Regions from separate parts of the Homo sapiens genome. Here region 1 is linked to region 2. The links are contacts of gene promoters, found by promoter capture Hi-C in blood cells and fetal thymus (Javierre and others, 2016). All regions are on one chromosome and are shown on one strand. Each heading gives the region's core, a stretch centred on a gene start or on the middle of the fragment in contact. The rest is flanking DNA. Distances are from core to core; before and after follow the strand shown. Region 1 holds the start of MYBPHL (myosin binding protein H like). Region 2 overlaps AHCYL1 (adenosylhomocysteinase like 1).

Evidence for each region. Contacts are between HindIII fragments. The CHiCAGO score rates a contact against its expected background, and 5 or more counts as called.
Region 1: a contact is called between the fragment with the promoter of MYBPHL here and a fragment that was not itself captured in region 2, in 1 of 17 cell types (M2 macrophages). The highest score is 5.1, in M2 macrophages.

Annotation. Positions count from the first base shown.
Region 1 is chr1:109,304,006-109,309,981 of GRCh38, reverse strand. MYBPHL (myosin binding protein H like) reads left to right here and starts at 2,971. Exons shown (of 9, transcript NM_001010985.3): 1 at 2,971-3,135. The coding sequence starts at 2,991. SORT1 (sortilin 1) reads left to right here. Exons shown (of 20, transcript NM_002959.7): 20 at 1-407. RefSeq lists enhancers at 1,975-2,713, 2,714-3,453. The HindIII fragment of the contact is 12,327 bases long and covers 1-5,256 here.
Region 2 is chr1:110,019,760-110,025,856 of GRCh38, reverse strand. AHCYL1 (adenosylhomocysteinase like 1) reads right to left here. Exons shown (of 17, transcript NM_006621.7): 16 at 5,006-5,126; 17 at 2,115-4,183. The coding sequence ends at 4,177. Among named protein-coding and RNA genes, the nearest start is that of STRIP1, 12 kb to the left of the region's middle. The HindIII fragment of the contact is 2,571 bases long and covers 2,638-5,208 here.

The sequences.
Region 1 (5,976 bases), core at 1,722-4,221, 710 kb after region 2:
TCCTCGTGCACAGAAATGCTCAGGGTCCCCATGTGCCTGTTGTTCAGCCCTCTCTCTTGTTCCCTTTCTGAGCATGTGGTCCTTCCCCAGGCTGTGGGACAGCTGCCTTCCCACGAAAGTGTAAAGCAGTATTAAGATCATTACTGCATGTGCCCTAAAAACCCAAGTTTTCTATTCCCTTAGGACAGAAAATTGCATGTGAGGTGGGATAATCGAGTTTCAGTGACCCACGTCAGTTACACATTAAAGCCAGACCCCATGATAAAATTCCACAAAATGGAAATAAAACTCAAATTTCTTTAGCATTGTGTAAATAAATCTGAATGTGTTTAACTTTGTACTGGTAATTTTCTGTATATTTGGAATATTTGGGTTAAAAATAAAACAGACTGGACTTTGTTACCTGACCTACTGAAATGACTAAGCTACAGTTTGTTGATATACTTTTTCCAGTTTTCTTGCTTCAGAATCAGACTCCAGCAACCAGAGAACAAGCCATTTAAAGAGCCAGGACTGTACATTTATAGCATGAAATGTATTCGGTCATCTATGAGGAAAACGTCTCACAAAAATGTGAGCCATAAATTACCTAATTTTCTTGTTCTTCATTTTCTTGCTCTTAGTGCTCATACAGATCTTCCTCCCGTGGGTGTGTATACGACCAGCTTTCTTGTTCTTCCTCCTAGAAAGTCTAGGCACCCACCCCACATACCTTCACAGGTTTCAGTTGCTACACTCTTCCTTCTGGACACAGCAACAGATAATTACTCCTTGAATTCTGTGTTCTTTTGAGCAGGTTTGACCCCTGGCGGCACTGAGAAGTTCAGCTTTGTAACTTCCCATCTGCTCCTCTTACATTTCTCTTGCTGTTCTTACGGGCCCTTTCTTGTCCCTTTCATTTAAGGACCTTTGGAGAGTTGCAGCCTTCCTCTCTTGCAAAGCATTTAAGAGAGGTTCCTGCCCACCCGTCTGGAACCGTTAGCCATCCTACCCTGCTAGCCTGGGGCAATATTCCATGTAATACTCCAGCACCTTGGTCTGAAGATGACAGGGCAAAGCCCTTGTTCCTGAGGCCCATCTGATGGGCGAGTTCCTACCCCAGGACATTATCTAAGATCGTTGTTTTATTTGAAGGAATTCTATCTAACATGGTATTCCAAGATTTCCTGCGCCAGAGTCACTAGGTTGGTTTTTTTAGGTGCAGATTTCTGGATAGCACCCCAGACCTATTGAATTAGACTTTCTGATGGGCAAACCTTAGGAACCTGCATCTTAAAGTTGATTCTTTACACCTTCGCTCCAACAAAGGGCTAAGACTCAGCCTGGGCCAATTTCCTCACCAAAAGATGGGTTACGTGTTGTGTAAAAGGGGGTGTATTTGGGGTCTCCTGGCTAGGAGACTGTCCACACTTACGGGGCCTTGGCTGGGTCAAGCAGGAAAAATAGTTCAGAAAGACCTTCAAGCTAGTTCTGATATGGCAAAAACCCAGTCTTCTGCCAACCAAATCAACCCCATAGGCCATCCAAGGCCCCAATAAACAGATTGTCCTGGGCCTTAGCTCCTATACCAGTTACAAAGAGGCTGAGCTTCTGTCACCCCAAGATAACACAGGCTCCTGGGATCTTACCAATTACCCCAAAATTGAAGGCAAAAATGAGTAAGAAGTCAGTCCATTTGTTCAACTGCACCCATTTTTTTTCCATGAAAAAAATACAGGGGTGAGTAGGGGGCTGTGGGAACCCTATACTTTCCACTCAGCTTTGCCGTGACTCTCAAACTGCTCTAAAATTAAAGCATTTTAAAATGCAGAGGGATGCTGGCTTCTGGAGATAAGAAGGTAGGAGTATGATAGGTGGCAGTGTCCATGGCATGTACAACACGTATAGAAAGATGGTTTGCTAAGTCTGGAAATCATGTAGGACCTGTAGTATGTGACTAGCACCTGCTGTGAGCTGGCCACTTTCCTATAGATTGTATCATTTTATCCTCAACACAATCATGGCATCATCCCTTGTTTCATAGACTGGGACTTGAGACTCCGAGTCGGCCATTTGCCCAGAGTCCCAGCTGGTGAGTGAGTGGTACAGCCAGAAGTCACACGCAGGTCTCTGAGCTCGCCTCCCTCCACCACTGCTGCCTCTCCCTTTATTTGTACTTCATCTAATAGGCAAGGCAGCCATTGACAGCTCTCAAAGGGGGAAGTGCTGGCCTGACCTAAAAATAGCTTACATTTATCAAGCACTTAGTCGGCTACACTCTGCTAAGCACTTTACAGAGATTACCTCTTTAATCCTCACAACGACCCTATGGTTATAATTATCTCCATTTTACAGATGAGGAAACAGACTGAAGAGAGACTGTGAGGTGTTGTGAGTCACACAGCTAGTTGGTGACAGAGCCCCAAGTGGCACCTGGGCAGCCAGTGCGAGTGCAGTCTCCACCTACCACTGCGCTGTGCCCGCTGCCCCCGGGGAGCGGGGGAGGATGGGACAGGCCCTGTAAAGGTCGAGTTGATAAGACTTTACAATTCATTGAATGTGGGAGCAGAGGGAGAAAGAGCAGTTCAGGCGTTGCTGTGAGTCAGCTAATCCTGGGCCCCTTCTTTGGGACCTGAATGCCCCACGGGATGAACTGGAGGTCAGGAGCAGAGATGTCACTCAACCCTCCCTACAGAAATTAGAGGTCCCTTTTGGATGGTGTGTTCAAGCTCTCCCTCCCTGGTGCTGTGGGGGGTGTCATCTCTCTCCCGAGATAACAGGGACACCTCAGTCCTCCTGGGGCTATTCTGGGCTGCTGTCTGATCCTCCTCTCTCCCCCAACCCCTACTTCAGCCTTTCTGCTGGGCGTAGCTGAGTGGGGAGGGCCAGCCCAGTTACGTAACCCTGTGGCTGGGACCCGGGAGGCCAGCCTGGGAGCAGGTGCTCAGCCCCTCCCTCATCACCAGCAGTGAAAATCTAGAGCTGGAGCTCAGCCTCTGGGAAGGCCCAGCATGGAGGCAGCCACAGCTCCGGAGGTGGCCGCAGGATCCAAGCTGAAGGTGAAAGAAGCCAGCCCAGCGGATGCTGAACCACCCCAGGCTTCACCTGGACAGGGGGCTGGCAGCCCCACTCCCCAGCTCCTGCCCCCTATAGAAGGTGACCCATGGCAGGTGGGGAGGGTGGGGAGGCCGGGTGGTGGGAGTTGGGGAAGACATCGCCACCTTCCTGAACGGCGCCTCAGGTTTTCTGCAGAGCTAAAGACTCTATAGGATTGGTGATTAGGCTGGAGATCATTCGTGAGAGCCCCCATCCCCTGTCCTTGATGGAGTCTAACTTGCTGCTCAAATGTCCCTGCTAAGTTTTTGTGTTTTAGCTGAGAAGTCAGTGATGGTGTTGGTGGCACTTTACAGTGACTAAAAATGATCTGTTTATATTTTTACCTTTTAAAAAATTGTCATAGGGACTGGGAAGACCTGATATACTAATGGCCAGTCAGGAAGGGACTGAGGGGTAAGAGATAGTGACTGTCTGCTGAAGGAACAGGGAAATAAAATGCTATGGCAATGGGGAGGCTAAGAGTGGGGCAGCACAGTGACACTCGGCCTCCTGCTGGGCAGTACCACGGGGTCAGGACCTCCTCCAATCCCCCACTGCTCCCATAGGAGATCCTGACCCCTCAGAGTCTGAGCTCCACGGAAGTGGAGCTCTCCTGGGAGAAGCATTCAATTTCCCCTTCACGATGGTCTCTGTGTGCCTCTCAGCAAAGAGGCGTTCCCAAGTGAGGAATTCCAACCCCGAGCTTCCTGCCGCCCATCCCTGAATGCCCTGGCTGAGGCCTCTGTAGCTAACCACTTCGTGGCGCTCACCTGAAAGTCTTAAGAGGATGAAAAGACCACAATCAAGAAACACGTGGACTCCTAGGGCAGGAAGAGGCAGGGGAAAAGATATACTAGACTTGGAGGCAAAGCTCTAGGCTCAATTCCTAGTGCCGCCTCTAACAGCCCTGTGACCTTGGACAAGTCACTGGACTGCTCAGTTTCCATTTTCACTCTGTAAAATGGTGATTAATAACATCTACCTATCAGGGTAGTTGAAAGGATTGCTGAGATGATCCAGGGTGCCTTGGAAGAGGCCAAACTAAGATGTAAATAAATGATCAAATATTTCCAAGTGAGAGGTGAAGGCTGCGTTCTACCTCCATAGGGTTGTGCAGCAGACTCTGTCTGCCTCTTATCCTCATGGGAGAGGCCAGGTTTCCAGAAACTATTTGAATGTCAAGGGCAGAGAGCTGGCCAAGTTTGTCCCGTTGAAGATGAAGGGAGCAAAAGTTAGTGTAAATATATTAAGCTGGGGTGATGGAGGCAGAAAACCAGTTTCTTCCCTTAAAAGGCCCAGAGAATAAGTGACAGGCAGCAGGAGAATGAGAGCCAGGACTGCTGACGCCTCAGCTCTCTCTACTGGTCTTCCCAAAAGCACAAGGGAGAGTGCTCATCTCCCCCATGCTTCTCCCCTCTGGCTGCAGCCAGCTCCTGACAGCCCCCAGTCACGGGCCCGCAAATGCAGCCCAAAGCCTCTCGTGTGCAGCAGCTCTGTACACTGCAGGCCTCAGGGCCACTAGCACCCAGTGGCTCAACCCAGTGGTATCCCAGAAGTCACTGGCAATAAGAACACCTTTGAATACTTTGCAAAATATATGTGCATCTGTTAACTACTTGGAACAAAGAAGTCATGAGTTCAAATCTTAGCTCTGTTCTGTGGCCCTAGGCAAGTCAATCCACTCCCATTTTCTCATCTGTAAATTGAGGAGTTGAACCAAATCAGGGTCTTAACCTTTTGGTGGATATGGACCCCTAGGAAAATCTAATGCCAGCTGTGGACTCTTGCCCCTGGAAAAATACACAAAAAAGTTCAGAGAGCCAACAGAGCCCCAAACCCCCACCAAAGATCCTTCAGGGTGCAATGCATGGGCCTGGACTAGATGACCCCTAAGCCCCCTGAGAGCTCCAAAGCCTTTCTTCCTCCTAACTCCTCTTCCTTACAGAGAGCTCTGGGACTGAGTATCACAGGAAGCATGTGAAAACATGGGAACTAGAGCAGGCATCAGAAATAGAAATTAATTTGCAAGATCAAAACCAACTGCAAATGGCCAACAATGAGCTTTTAGTTTGGCAAGCCTGCTACATGGCTAAATAAGCAGGAGTAGGTGGCCAGCATTGGTAAACAGTTCTATGTCTGTCCTCAGCACTACACTGAGTACTGTGTCCTGGAGACAAAGCTTGGCAGGGGCCAGAGAAGAGCTTCCAAAACAGGGAGAGGCTGGGGAACAAGCTGCATCCCTCCCATGGACAATGTGACACTCGGCCTCCTGCTGGGCAGTACCACGGGGTCAGGACCTCCTCCAATCCCCCACTGCTCCCATAGGAGATCCTGACCCCTCAGAGTCTGAGCTCCACGGAAGTGGAGCTCTCCTGGAAGAAGCATTCAATTTCCCCTTCACGATGGTCTCTGTGTGCCTCTCAGCAAAGAGGCGTTCCCTGGGACCCTGAGGTGGAGGAGAAAGAGCCCATCTGCTGACTTCAGCATCATCGCTCCAACTGACTCTGTGTTCTCTTTCAATCTGAACTGTTCTGTGTCTTCCAGGCATGGGAAACTGAATCTCATGCCTAGGAGTGACCTTTCTTCCCTCCTTCCTTCCGTCCTTCCTTTCCTCCTCCTTCCTTCCACAAATATTTAGGTTGTGCCTATGATGTGCCAGGCGCTCTTCTAGGTGCCAGAATTACAGAAATGAACAAAATAGGTAAAAATAACTGCCCTCATGGAAGTTAGATTCTAGTGGAGGGAGCTAGACAATAAATAAACAAGTAAAGTATCTAATATGTCAGATGGTGAGAAATGCTGTGCCAAAACTAATGCAGGGACGGGGATAGAACGTGCTTCGGGTAGGAAGCATGCAGGCTTCCTGCTTCAAATGGAATATTCAGTGAGGGTCTCACTAAT
Region 2 (6,097 bases), core at 2,674-5,173:
CTTTATGGAAGGCTACTTTGAAAGTATACATAGGCCAGGCACAGTGGCTCACGCCTGTAATCCCAGCACTTTGGGAGGCTGAGGCAGGTGGATCACCTGAGGTCAGGAGCTCAAGACCAGCCTGGCCAACATGGTGAAAGCCCATCTCTACTAAAAATACAAAAATTAGCCAGGTGTGGTGGCGGAAACCTGTAATCCCAGCTACTCGGGAGGCTGAGGCACAGGAATCGCTTGAACCCGGGAGGCAGAGTTTGCAGTGAGCCAAGATCATGCCATTGCATTCCAGCCTGGGCGACAGAGTGAAGCTCCATCTCAAAAATAAATAAATAAATTAGAAAAAAAGTATATACATATACAATTCCTCATTAAACTTCTGTTTACTTACTCATTCATTTCTATTAGCAGAGTCATAGTTTTCTATTTTGTTCAATGGATTACAAATCATTACTATGCTGATGCTCAGGTTGTCTCAGATTTACCCCATGTAAATCCCTTACAGCTGGCTTATGTATCCTTTTTTAAGGCCTTCCTTGCTTTCTGGTTTATCTTGTACTTTTTTTTGCTCTGCCATGGAATCAGTCATCTCTCCAACGAGTCCTGGCTTCTTTCGGTGGAGAATGTAGTGCCTAGACCTCGAGGTCAGGTATGTGCACTGGGGGAAGAGGGGAACTGCTGCTCCAAGGCTTGCTTAGTAGAGAGAGCTAGGGAGTGTTTGTACACACACACACACGTACATTGACATCTGTATTTCTTTAACTAGGTTGATATTTATGACTTCACACTATCATCTCCTATTCAAACCCAACAGCAGAGTTCATTCTAGTGTTTTCCCTTTCCAATGTGTAACACCTTCCTCCAAAATGAGACAGCTGGCTTCCGCTACCCTTAATATTTTCACGTACAGTGATCAAATCCCTTATCCCTAACTAATCTGCCATTGCCATTCATCCCCTGCATAGATGCATTCCCCACGCCACTTGGGATCTGACTCCTTGTACCAAGCTACATCCCCAGTTCCCACAAGGATACCACCCACACTCACAGGCTGCAAATCCACATGAATCCCTAGCTTGCTCTGTCTTACCTAATGGCCAAATTGTGGGTAAAGGAAAAAGGGAAGGAATTTGGATCTTGTTGGAATTTTACGTAAACACCACAAAGGAAGAGATCATCTGATTTAAACTGATGTATCCCCAGTATCTAAAACAGACTTTGGCATATATGAGGTAATAGTTAGGTCCTTTTTGCCCTTCTACCTTCTGCTATATGAGGATGCATAAGAGGTACCATCTTGGAAGCAGGCAGCAGCCCTCTTCAGACACCAAATCTGCCAACGACTTGACCTTGGACTTCCCAGCCTCCAACTGTGAGAATATCAATTTCTGTTCTTTATAAATTACTCAGTCTCAGGATTTTGCTGGAGCAGCAGAAACTGACCAAGATAAATACTTTCTTACATCAGAAGACACTGGCCAGTAATCCCAGCACTTTGGGAGGCAGAGGCAGGAGGATCACTTGAGCCCAGGAGTTTGAGATCAGCCTAGATTTCATGGCGAAACCCCATCTCTACCAAAAATACAAACAATTAGCTGACACTGTGGTCCCAGCTACTTGGGAGGTTGAGGTGGGAGGATCACTTGAGCCCGGAAGGCAGAAGTTGCAGTGAGCTGAGATCAAGCCACTGCACTCCAACCTGGGTGACAGTGAGACCTTGTCTCAAAAAAATAAAGAGAAAAAAAAAAAAAAAAGACACTGAGACCACTTCAGAAATGGATACAGGTGTGGGAGGAGGCTGAAGCTTACATAACTTTGGGGGCATTCTTCAGAAATTAGGTCTTAGAAGGACTATGCAAATGAGGAACCCTGAGGCTTAAGCAGCAAGTCTGCTTCCTGAAGGAAGTTAGGAGTGAAAGTACCCAGGCCCGGTGCTTGGCACAGAGCAGGCATACAAAACTTCAGGTATTACTTTGAAGAATCCTGTATCCAGCCTCTATATATTAGGCCCTCAACAAATCTCTATTAAATGCTACTGACCTATAACTTGTCACACCCTAGAAAACAGGTTCTAATGAAGTTTTGCTGTTTAACAAAGAATGACACATACGGACTGCCAATAAGGTCTTATCATTTTAATCGATTTTAATGATTATTGCTCATCTGCAAGGATTAATATTGCATTCATTAAAAATCATTCAATACAAAATGAACTTGTTCTTCCCAAGTTGCTCTCCACATGCTCCCTCTGATGCCAGACTTTTTTTTTTTTTTAACAGTGTCCTTTGTTACATGGCTTGACAGAGACAGAGCCCTTACCTATTATTCCTATGGACACGGTAATAGATATGGGATCAAGGGGCAGGTCAGAGGGCAGGTGAATGTGGGTCCCTTCCCTCCAGCAGGGCTAACGTGATGGATACACTGTTGGCCAGGTTACCTCCCCTAACAGATGTGGTGTTCTGATTGGTTGGTTAAGTGCCCGAGGAAAATAGGCCTTAACTGTTAACATCTACAGAGAAGAAAGCATGGTCACACTGGCAAGGAGTAAGAAGGGATTGGGTAAAAGAAAATGGGAGAGAAAAGGGAAAAAAGTTTTGGCAAGACAATTGTTCCCTGCTAAGAAGCTGCAGGGTGAAAGCTTTCCTTTCTTCTATTTTTGTTTTTAATGTCTGTCTCTCTGATCAGTGGAAAAGTGAAAATTTCTAGTATCTAGCACTAACGTATGACCCAACTTTGAGGGATCACAAGCTAGAACAAGTTGAGGATTTAAAATCCTGGATAATTATATACTTAAAGCTCATGAGCATAAAGCTCACTTGACCATGCAGAAATGCTGGGAAGCAGGGTGCATGGCATGGGAATACATCTCCCTGATCTTTGAGAGAGCCTCTCTGGATATTCTTTCAGAGCATGAGCCAGGATGTACTGACTACTTTCTTCACACATCAGTTGCCCTTTATGATCTCAGTTCATAAACTCTTTGTGGTATGTAGCAATCAAAAGTCATATTACTTCTGTAAAACTAACATTATATAGGGTGTATAGTCCCAGACAAATTATATGAAGCTAGATTTTTCTTGCCCTGGCCCAATTTATCATTCCTCCTCCTGCCCACACCTACCTCCCTTTAAATATTTTAGGTTGCAGAAGCACAGCTGACCAGAAATTTGCTCTTAAAGATAAATCCTAAAGATAGAACTCAGTGCTTTATACTGAGTAATGGCTCAAGAAATTCGCCTTCAGCACAAGCTGTATGGTACACAGCTGATAGAATTTGCTGTTGTGGCTCCAGTTCACTGATGCTATGAACTACGGGCTAGAAACAGAGGGACTTAACAGGGCTTGAGACTAGCATTTCTCTAGACTCAGCATCCTTAGCTCCAAAGGTTCAAAAGAGAAATTGGTAACAACTAACCACTCAAGCAATTCCTCAGCATTAACACCAAAAATTCTCCTTAATTTTTCTTTTCTTTTTTTTTTTTTTTGGACAACAGAAATAAATCCTAGAGGACAAAATTAAACTCAATAGAGTGTAGTCTAGTTAAAAACTCGAAAAATGAGCAAGTCTGGTGGGAGTGGAGGAAGGGCTATACTATAAATCCAAGTGGGCCTCCTGATCTTAACAAGCCATGCTCATTATACACATCTCTGAACTGGACATACCACCTTTACGCAGGAAACAGGGCTTGGAACTTCTAAGGGAAATTAACATGCACCACCCACATCTAACCTACCTGCCGGGTAGGTACCATCCCTGCTTCTCTGAAGAAGTGAAAGAGCACTGATTTCAGCAGCTAAGAAATGGGCTCTTTTAAGGCGATTTAGACATTGCAGATTGTTCCACAGAGAAGGTACCTTAGCATTTCCTGTTAATAAGGTACCTAATTAAGACTAAAGTCCCCAGAAATGGTAAAGAAAGAATCACCTTTCTGGGCTGGGAGAGTAAAATCCTTCTTTAGTGACTAGAGTGAGGAACCCTGAACTTCTATTTCATCTAAAGAGCCATGAAGCAAGTTCCTGTGTGGTCTGCAGAACTTGGATAATGAGATGAAAAAACAAGAATGAAATTATAGGAAAAAAATCAAGAGGAAAGGAGTAAGAAGAAAATAAAAGTTATCTTAAAAAATATTTCTTTAGAGTGTGTGGTTCAGGTGGACTGGTCCTTGGTAGTATGGTCCATTAGTATCTGTAAAGAGAGAGAGTGATTGGTTAACACTTATGTCTTCCATATGAGAATTCCAAAAAACAATCGGAAACAGAGCACCTTCTCCAGGGCCCCTCCCCAGCCTGGGTGGGATCCCTGCAGTCATTCCCCAGGGCACCAGTCTCCCTTATTCTTCCACAGGGTCTCTGACAATGCCATTTCTGGTGTTACCGCCTGTTCCCAGGAATGAGTCAGTGTTTTTTCAACCCTGACTAAACATTACAATAATCTGGGGAGGTTTTACAAAATAATGTTTTGTAAATTTGGTCCCATCGCAGACCAAATATATCAGAATCTCTTAGGGTGAGGCCCAGGCTCCAAAATTTCAAAAAAACCCTAACTCCCTGATATCTCCCACAATTTCTCTATCTACCTTGTTAACTGGAACAGTTTTTTTGTTTGTTTGTTTGTTTTTAAGACAGAGTCTCACTCCATCACCCAGGCTGGAGTGCAGTGGCATGATCCCAGCTCACTGCAACCTCCGCCTCCCAGGTTCAAGTGATTCTCGTGCCTCAGCCACCTGAGTAACTGGGATGACAGGTGCCCGCCACCACACCCGGCTAAGAGATAGGGTTTCGCCATGTTGGCCAGGCTGGTCTTGAACTCCTGACCTCAAGTGATCCATCCGCCTAGGCCTCTCAAAGTGCTGGGATTACAGGCGTGAGCCACCGTGCCTGGCCTGGAACAGATTTCTTGTATTCTTCAAAATCAGGTACAACATTTGATCTTTATGTCAGAAGCAGGCTAGCCTGCTTGGTTTAATACTGGGAAAAAGAGCTTTTCACTTGCTTCTCCCCAGGTTACCTGTAATAATTAGGTTTGAATGGCCCATTTTTGTTGAGTCCCAGATATTTTGCTTGGTCATCTGTCAGCTCTGTAAGGTGGGCATCAAATGATGGCAGATGCAAGCTGGCAACGTATTCATCTAGGAAGAGCAAAGTGGCAGGAGAGCAGACTCCTTTTCAAAATGTCTCTCAAGTTATAACTTCCCATTTTCATTTGAAGCTTTTTTAAGAAAGCAGACAAGGGATGGAATAACTCTGAAAGAATCCACAACTTGAAATATTTGCTTAATTAAAAAAAAAACCTCAAAGCTGCCTTTCTGGGCAGGATGCTTCTCTCAGCACATGTACAGTGCGTTCAGAAAAGCCACTTACCAGGGTAACAAAAGGGAGTGGGCTTTTACCTCTCTATCCTTCTCTGGCAAAGCAGGGGGCTTCCCTGCAGTGGCCCACATGTCACATGCTACTCCTACCTTCCTGCAGCAACCTCCTTAACTAGATTATAGTCAAATTAGCAATCAAAGTGGACACCAGTAAGCTAGAAAGACCCTGTGTCAATAACACTCATTTAGGATAAGATCCATGGATCTTAGGATCATGAATTTCTAAGGTAGTCGGCACAGAATTTTTACTTTTCCATAGATAAGCTTCCCTTTTATAATTATACACTGAAAAAAAAGTCTGAAGTAAGCTATTGGAGGAGAGGAGAGCAAGAAGTATTTTAGCATTAAGAAGTCAGGGATTTGGGCTAGCCAAGGAGATATGGGAGATGGGTACACCGTGCAGAAAGGCAAAGGACTAGAGATGATGTATTATGTCACATGAACACAGCATGGGTTGCTTACAAGAGATTGGATGGTTTGCATATCCTCACAGAAAATGGACAATAAAACCTGTGTTTGTTTCTCTCATTTTGTTCCAAGGCTGTATGTACTCAGCTGCACTGGGAAGTTTACTGAACTTCATAAGGCTACTTAGAGTAAGAACATCTCCCTAAACCATTGTGTTAAGCACTGTTACTCATTAGCTGTGATTCTCACACAATTCTACAATGTATGTAGTATTATTTTCATTTTACCAATCAAGAAACTGAGGATCATAGAGATTAGAACTT